Regions from separate parts of the Homo sapiens genome. Here all the other regions are linked to region 1. Evidence: promoter capture Hi-C in 16 types of primary human blood cells and fetal thymus (Javierre and others, 2016). All regions are on one chromosome and are shown on one strand. Each heading gives the region's core, a stretch centred on a gene start or on the middle of the fragment in contact. The rest is flanking DNA. Distances are from core to core; before and after follow the strand shown.

Region 1 (2,700 bases), core at 179-2,678:
CCAGGGCTCTACACCTGGTTAGATCTGTCCATCATGTCCTGTGGAAGTCTCAGTCACAACATGGAAATTGTCAGTTCATGGGCAGCTTACCCTGTCCCCTGTCCCCTCGTGCCAGAAGCCAGAGGCCAGAGGCTATGTTTATTCAAGCCTGTTTCCTCAGTGCTGAGTGCAGTGCCCTGCTGGAAATAGGTGCTGAGTATGCTTGATCAGCTGACTTTGCTTGAACATCTTCAGTCTCTTAAACAGTCATGTATCCAGAATGTTGCATTCTGAGAAGTTCTAAATAGCCAATGATTATTATAGCCATTAGCACTCACACCTTTCTCTGTTATTACACTGTAAATTCCTAGAGGCAGAGCCCCAGACGCTTCATCTTTGTGCGCTGAAAATTCCAGGCAGGGACCTGGGCAGACAGGTGTGGGATGAGAAGGACACTCTGGCCAGGAGATAAAGCCACCAATTTTCCTGCATAGACAACTTCCAGCAAAGCCTGGGAGTGGAAATGACTGATCAACTTGGAAGATGATCCCAAGAGAACGTTCTAGACTAGGAAATCAGAGCTCATTTGTGGAATGCAAGCCCACCCATGACTTCAAATGCTACAAATTCTAGAAGATTTTAAAAATGCATCACCTGTTGAATGCTGAGTGAGAAAATAAAGACAACAGAGTTGACTGAATATTACAGACCTGAGTTTAACCTAAGACAAACTAATTATGAAGCTATGAACATATTTCAGTCAACATGAAATACAGAATATGTTTCCTGACCAGCACATCAGTTATAACAGAAATCCCCTTAAAGAATTTTAAAGAAGCTGTGTTTTGAAAACTGTCATGCTTGGCTTCAGTTTTGTGGTCCCCTTTCAGTGCCCCTGTTTTGCGTTTTCATTGTATCACCCAACCTGTGTGTCAGAATAAGACATTCATTAAAAAAAGGGGACATTTAATAAGCATTGGCATTTTTTCAAGGGAAAATATTTAAATATGATTAAAACAATAGTGAAGCTAAGAAAAACCTGACTATATGCTAAAAATACAGCATCTATTATTAGCATTCCAGAAATTCCAAATTGAAGCACTCCAGACAGTATTAGTGATGATTACGTGCAAAATGCAGCAATAAGCCAAACCTAGACTTTCTATTGACTTGTCTATTTTCGTATCTCGCTAGCAGAAAGACTACATTTCTGGTCATTTCCATTATTGGGGAATCGTACTTTACCATTGATTTCGAAAGGCTCCATTGCAATTTGGTGAAAAGCAGCTTGTTGGGTCTCACTCAAGAGCTCGTCCTCCTTGAGAATTTTCTTATTTCTCATTGCCAAGCTTTATAGATGGCCAAAGTCCTGGAGCCAGCAGAAATGCTCCCCTCAAGAGGAACCACTTGGAGAAAGATCCTTCCCATCGAACCACTGCAGCTGGTTGTAAACCTCGCAGCACTTCCCTTTGGCTCTGATTTCAGAATTTGCAGGATGTTTCCTGACATGATCAGGATTGGACATTTCTCAAACACGGGCTATTCACATGTGGATCTCCCACACAGTGCTGCTGCTTGTTAAGGGGGATCGAGGAGGCTTTGGGACACAAGTTACGGGCCTCTGAATGCACCCGTCACTCCCAGGTCCCTGAGACCCAAAAGCTGGATGGCTCCAGAGAGGGCCAACCAAGCCCTGCCATGGGCCCAGACTCAGCTCTCTGTCCCAGGACCTCTCCAGCCCACAGTGAAATCTCCCTTCTCTGACCTGCCTCAACCTTTAGAGTTCATCCTTGCTGCTCAAAGTGTGGTCCATGGACCAGCAGTATTAGTATCACCTGAGAACTTGTTAGAAATGCAAGTTCACTTGTTCTAACAATGAGTCTCTGGTCCCACCCCATCAGATCAAATCCAAATCTACAGTTTAACTAGATCCCCAGGTGATTTATATACACATTACAGTTTGAGAAGCCTTGCTCTGAACCACACATTTTAGCACTTAGTATTTCTTCTTGTAGTTTTCCCATGTTCTCTCTCTGTGTGTGTACACATGTGTGCACATGTGTACATGTGTTACAGGTGTCCTTGTCCAGGCCCCAGTGAGATCTGAGCTCCTTAAGGAAAGTAGCTTCTCCCCTCTCTCCCTCCCGTCAGGCATCTCTACCAGGGATGCTGTATAGCATGGTGGTTAAGACACAGACACTAAGAGCTAGAATGCCTGGCTTCAAATTCCACCTCTTCCACATAGGGGCTGTCTGGCAGTAGGCAAATCACTTGAGCTTTGAGCATCTCACTCTTCTGTTTGTATAAATAAGGAAGATATGAATTTCGTGAGCCTTAAATGAATTAAATCATATAAGGTGGCTAGGATGGAAGTATTAGGTAATAAACACTATGGTCATGTTGTTGTTATTATCATTAGAGACATTGTGAGCCTGCTGGGCACCGAGGAGATGAAGAAATGGCCTTTTTTCATGAAAGATATTCACAGTCTACCATGCAAGATGGTTGCGGCTACAACTACATTCCAGAAAATTGCTGTGAAGTGCGGCAAAGGTTGATGTCCCTGAAAAGACAGAAGTGCCGGGAGGCAGGGGAGACAGGGCAGAAATATGACAAATAGCTTTATCATCTGAATCAAGAGATATCAGATACCAGAGCTGGGCTTAAAAGGATAATGGGGGATTGATCCAGATCAAGATGAGGCAAAGGCCCTCCAGGGAG
Region 2 (2,700 bases), core at 48-2,547, 280 kb before region 1:
CCTTGCAGGTGACTGAGAGGACACACCCAGGTGAGACCCTTTGGTTTTGTGGACCTTCTGGCTCTCAGCACTGTATTCTTGGGGCTGCCAGAATCCCCGTGAGGACACAGCCTGTTTCGCCCCAGTGGTAGGTTCCTCTGGGCTCCAAGTCAGATAACTCTGGGTTCAAATTCTACTTCTGCAACTTCCTAGCTGTGTATCCTTGCAAAATACGTGGACTCTCTGAGGCTGTTTCCCCATTTTTAACAAGAGATAATGGTGCCTTCCTGTTGTGAGGATTAACTGGGATATTGTGCTCAAAGCCCTTAGCAAGATGCCTGGCACACATAAATGGGAATATCTGCTGTTAATTATATTATGGCTGCACTCTGATGGACAGAAATACCTCCCTGGGGGCATTTCCAGAATCCCCACTTCTGGAGCCCATCTCTGAGGTGGCCCTGGATATTTGGGAGGCCTCTCTGTGCCCTCTGCCAGGGCTCCAGCGGGACCTTCCTGCTTCTCCCCACGGATCCGGCTTTCTGGTCCCCAAACCGCATATTATCTGGGCACACCCTCCCCTTCATTTACCCAGAGTGACCAAAGTTCCAACCACACCTCTCCGGGCAGCCTGTCCCCAAATTTCGGGGAAGTGGGCAGGAGGGGGAGCTTTGCCGGGCAGGAGGGGGAACTTTGCCAGGCAAGGGCTCCGCGGGCAGAGGCGGGCACTGGTGAGGCCAGCCTCCTCCTGGGGACCAAGGTCGGGCGCCCCTGCCCAGCCCCTGCACCTGCCCCTGTCCCTGCCCTGTTCGGCTGCGAAGGGACTGGGAGGTCTGGCGAGGAAGAGCCTGGAAGATCCCCGCCCACAGCTACCAGCCCTCCTTTGGGACCGCTGGCCAGAGCCCCAGCCGTGGGGCACACGGGACCTGTGGACTCAGCCGGGGTCATCCGGAGGGGCGCCCACATCTGCACCCGGGGCTCCGGAGCCTGCTCCCCGCCACTGTCGCCGCCGGCCCTGCCTAACCTGCGCGGCGCAAGCGGCTTCCACGCCTAGGGAAGGAAGGCACACGGGGTGGGGGCCCCGGAACCCGGTTTCTCTGCCGCCGGGCGCACGTGGCTCGGTCCCAGGGGACAGAAGTCGCCTCCAGACGTGTGGCGGCACCCGAGGTCCGCGCAGCGACGGCGCAGGGTGCAACCGGGCGGGCGTCTCGGGGACCGGGCGCAGCACGCAGCCCCGCGGAGACCGGGGGAGGGTACACTCACCTCTGCGGCCCGCCGCTCGGAGCGACCGCGGCAGCTGAAGGTCCGCGGCGAAGGCGGTGGCTCGGCCCGAGGCTCCTCCTCCCCCGCGCCCCACCCGCCCGGGAGGGCCGGACCTGCAGGGGAGGTGGCCGCCCTCCAGCCCGCCGCAGCTTATCCGGCTCGGCCACCTCCCCCGGGGCCGCAATCAGGAGCCGCCGGGTCCTCGCTCCCCGCCCAGCCCTGCACAGCCCCGGCAGCGGTGGCAGCGTCCAACCACCCTCCTCCCCTGGCCCCAGGCGGGAGGTCGCCAGCCGGCGCCAACACTTCCTGATTTGCAGTGCCCGGCACACGGCTGAAGTGAGCAGAACTCCGGGACCTCCTCTTAACCCGGCCACGGAGGGCACCGAGGCCAGGGTGACCTCTAGGCCCCCCTCTCTTAACCTGAGGAGCACCTCGAATCCTTGTCCATTTTATAACCGAGGCCAAGTGGCAGCCACGGTTGCAGGTGGGAAGAGACCAGGGCTCCAGATTGGGTCCGGATCCCTTCCCTCTCAACAAGGTTGCGCCCAGGCCTTTGTGGTCCCCCCCCAATCTCTGTCCCTTGTCCACCCTTAGGGCAGACTTTTGACCCTTCCCAGCAGTCCTCAGGTTCCAAGACCGGTGGGATGGCGGGTACCTTTCTCCCGGAGCTGCCTCCCTGTCTAGGCCTTCTGGGCTCTGAAACCCTACCCGTCCCCCCTTCCCCCTGGGGCACTGCCCGCTGCCCTCCGCACTTCCAATGCCGATGGCTTCACAGCACTGCAGCGAAGCAGGGCGTAAGTAAGGGGAGGCTGTCTGTGGGCACCTCTCTAGAGGTGTGCGCCCTGGTCCGAAGCCCCTTCTCACCTGTGGTCACATTTGCCGGCTGCAGTTATTTTCTTTACAGGTGAGGAGACCCGGGCTTTTCCGCTCAGATTCGTGGAGGCTGAGTGGGGGTTCCTGACCCCTGGTACTCTTTCTAGAGTATTCCTGGGAGACATACACTATTAGCCTCTGATAAGGAGCTTCAGGTTATTTTTAGGAAGTCTAAGAATCCTGTTTTCTGGGGAGCCAGCCTCTGTTGGGGAGATAAGCCTCCGGAGGCCAGAGGCAGGAGCTGGGCCTCAAGGAAGGCCCCACAACTGGACCCCAAAGGGCACGGTGGGGAGGAAGAGGCAGAGCTCTGGTCTCCCTGTGGAGGGAGTGCTGCTGTAAAGCGCCTTTCCCTCCACCCCCAACTCCCGCCGAGAACCCCCCCACCCCCGCAGGCAGTTTGCTTTCCCCCTCCACAGCTTTCCTCCTACCCGAATACCCACCTCCCAGCTCTCTGCTCAGCCAGGGCCCAAGGCCAGAGCCTCTCTTCTCTTGCAAGAACTTTCCTGTCCCACCTTGCCCCAGGGCAACACCTCTTATGGCAATTCTTACAGGTCCTTTATCCATTCAACACTCACAGTGCCCCAG
Region 3 (2,700 bases), core at 124-2,623, 420 kb before region 1:
CAGCTTTCTCAAACTCAGCCTAAATGGAAGGGAGAGGAGAGGATTGAGGGCCTCCTCTGGGTGGGAGAGGGTAAGAATCCTACTGTGGCCTGATGACAGCCCAGTTACGGGGATGGAGAGGTGGGAAAGGTGGCACCCTTCGGGCAATGCAGCCCCTGAAGTGTGTCTGCCCCTCCCTGCCCCAACAGGGCAGCTAGAAAGATTCAGCAACACAAGAAGGGGAAGCCCCTCCAGTTCACTCATTCAATCGAAAACCATATATCCAGAGCTCTCACAAACGCAGGCATCAGGTCTGGAAATACAGCAGTGAAGAGGGCAGGCCAAGCCTTCGCCCCCAGTGGGGGTCCCCTCTGCGGGAGAAGCAGCGCGGCCAACTGCCTGGCCACCACCGGGCCAGGCACTAGGGAGTGGCCGGGGCTGCAGCGAAGCCCTGGCCTGAGGACAGACGGGGCACAGTATGCTGGAAACAGCTGAAAGGGGACAGGGCATGAGTGCCGCGGTGTCAGCGCCGGAGCCCGTTGGTCCCCTCCCTCCCCCTGGGGCCCGCGCGTTCAACACCGACCTCTGTCCCAGTGCCCGGATTGGCAGAGGCAGGCGGGAGGAGCCAGAGGTCGCCCCACATAGCTCGGTCTCAGACAAGGGTCTACACTGGAGAGAAGGGAGGGGCCCCTGGGTCACCTCTCCCCGGGCCGCGATTCTCCTCGTCCCGCACTCTGAGCAGCCGGCCCCGTACTTCCCCTGACCTCCAAGCTCTCGGCCACGGACTCCTCGCTTCCCCACTCCGCCGCGACGTCCTGCCCTGTGCTTCGGGATGGGGACTGAGTCTCCTCGCTCCTCCAATCCGTGCAACCCCTTCCCCCATCTCTCCATCAAGCACCCTCGACTCCCACCCCTCTCCCGCTACACAGCGAAGTCCACCCCATGGGCAACTTTCCGGCAGTTGCGGGGTGGGCAGCAGATTTAGAAATCCCCAAACGGAAAATCCCGCTCACAAGGCTCTGTCCAACGAATCAGGGCTAGGCATGGGCCCATGAGCAAGTGAGGGGCACGGAAGGAAAGAGCCCGAGAGCTTCTGGCAGCCGGCTGAGCCCCCAACGGGCCTCCCGCCCGCTGCACCTTCGCAGCCTGGCTGTGCACGCGCTGTACCTGAGACATCCTGGCCGACTTGCAAGAACTCCAGGGAGACAGCGGAGGAGGCGAGGACCAGGAAGCGATCGCCCAGATTGCACTGGCAAGCGCCTTTAGAGGCGCGGTCCACTCGCCCCAACCCTGCTCGGGCGAGCACCGGAAAGCCAATCAGAAGCCAGCTATGCGCTAGGGGCGTGCCCAGCCCCCGCCGCGGCGCTAGCCCCGCCCGAGCCCACGTGGGACCGCTTGCGCAAACGCCGGGAGTAGCCGAAGGGGACGCCGGGAACAGGTGGGGACAACGGAAGTAGGGTGCTTAGTTTTGCTGCCGGGAGTTGGTCGAGAGTTGGGTTCAGTCCTGGCCCGTTGTGGGGACGGCACGCGGGGGAAGGGGAGGGGACGGAGACCGAAGAACGGAGGTCCTTATGTTTCTTTTCTTTCCTTAAATCTTGCCCGGCCTGAAGAGGCCGGAAGTTGCATCTCTGGACAAGTAAACTCTGAGACCTGGGAATGGCGGGCGGGACCCGCTCCTCCCTTGGGGTCTAGAGGAGACCCCCGGAGATGGTCCCTGATGAGCAGCGTGATGGTGGAAAGCTGGACTGGTCTCCCGAAAGGCGAAGCCGAGGCTTCTTCCTCTGAACTTTTGGCACGTTCTTTGACTTGCTTGTGGCCGTAGTGTCAGGCCTGTATTGCACATTTATGTCTGTGGTGCATTTCTCCATCTGGTGCGTTAAAGGCAGGGACGGTGTCTTATTTGTCTTGATTTAACAAACTTGGACGGGACGAAGTGCTCAGCAAATATTTGTTAAATGAATGGCTGTTTATTGAACTCCTGTTGGGTAACTTGCACTGTTCTAGACCTTGGCAGACAGCAGTGAACAAAGCGGGTGAATCCCTGCAATCTTGGAACTTACAAGTAGGGACAGTAGTTTATACAATAAGTTAAATATAGAGTACTTTAGGGGCTTAGAGAGTTGGAAGTTTATAGTTTTAAATGGAGGAGGGGGAGTATTGAGGGAAGGTGACATTTGAGAAAGTTCCTCAAGGAGGGGAGGGAAGATTCCAAGCAGAGAACAAGTGTAAAGGCGTGGGCAAGGAACCAGGGGAAGAGTAGAAAGATGAGGCTGGAGAGTTTTGGCGGTGGCAGACTGGCTAGGTGATGCAGAAGTTGGCCATCACAGGGACTTTGACTGTCATGCTGAGTGAGATGGGAAATCGTAAAAGGGTTTGAAAAGAGGATGAGGAGACGGAGGGGAACGTCTTTGCGAGATTGTTACACAGCCTAATCTCCATGGGAACTGAAAGGAGCAGCACAGGTGTCTGGAAGTGTTTTAGGATCGATGTTTAAGAAGCTAAAGGAAGACTTCTCTGGCAGTGGTTGCAAAGGAGCTGGGTGAAGAGAGGGAAATGATGGAAAATTCTCTGGAGATCATTAAAAAAGCAAAGTCATTCCTCTCTAATTCATAATTTGTGGCAAGAGGGCTGGACTACAAATCTCTGCCCTGCCTACACCTTCCCCCTCCCCAGGGAAGGTAGACGCTTTCAGACTTAACTTGCTAACTTAATGTAGGTCAC

The links. Contacts are between HindIII fragments. The CHiCAGO score rates a contact against its expected background, and 5 or more counts as called.
Region 2: the fragment with the promoter of STEAP3 here is called in contact with the fragment with the promoter of MARCO in region 1 in 3 of 17 cell types (monocytes, M2 macrophages and M1 macrophages); the score reaches 8.5 in monocytes.
Region 3: the fragment with the promoter of C2orf76 here is called in contact with the fragment with the promoter of MARCO in region 1 in 2 of 17 cell types (M2 macrophages and M0 macrophages); the score reaches 10.9 in M2 macrophages.

Annotation. Positions count from the first base shown.
Region 1 is chr2:118,940,922-118,943,621 of GRCh38, reverse strand. MARCO (macrophage receptor with collagenous structure) reads right to left here and starts at 1,428. Exons shown (of 17, transcript NM_006770.4): 1 at 1,225-1,428. The coding sequence starts at 1,321. The HindIII fragment of the contact is 9,171 bases long and covers 1,331-2,700 here.
Region 2 is chr2:119,222,431-119,225,130 of GRCh38, reverse strand. It overlaps STEAP3 (STEAP3 metalloreductase), which reads right to left and starts at 1,297. Exons shown (of 6, transcript NM_182915.3): 1 at 1,243-1,297. RefSeq lists silencers at 645-714, 775-1,554. The HindIII fragment of the contact is 5,957 bases long and covers 1-2,700 here.
Region 3 is chr2:119,365,507-119,368,206 of GRCh38, reverse strand. It overlaps C2orf76 (chromosome 2 open reading frame 76), which reads left to right and starts at 1,373. Exons shown (of 6, transcript NM_001322331.2): 1 at 1,373-1,417. It overlaps DBI (diazepam binding inhibitor, acyl-CoA binding protein), which reads right to left and starts at 1,230. Exons shown (of 4, transcript NM_001079862.4): 1 at 1,147-1,230; 2 at 1-19. The coding sequence starts at 1,155. RefSeq lists enhancers at 110-309, 840-1,169, 1,540-1,799 and a silencer at 1,270-1,419. The HindIII fragment of the contact is 12,909 bases long and covers 1-2,700 here.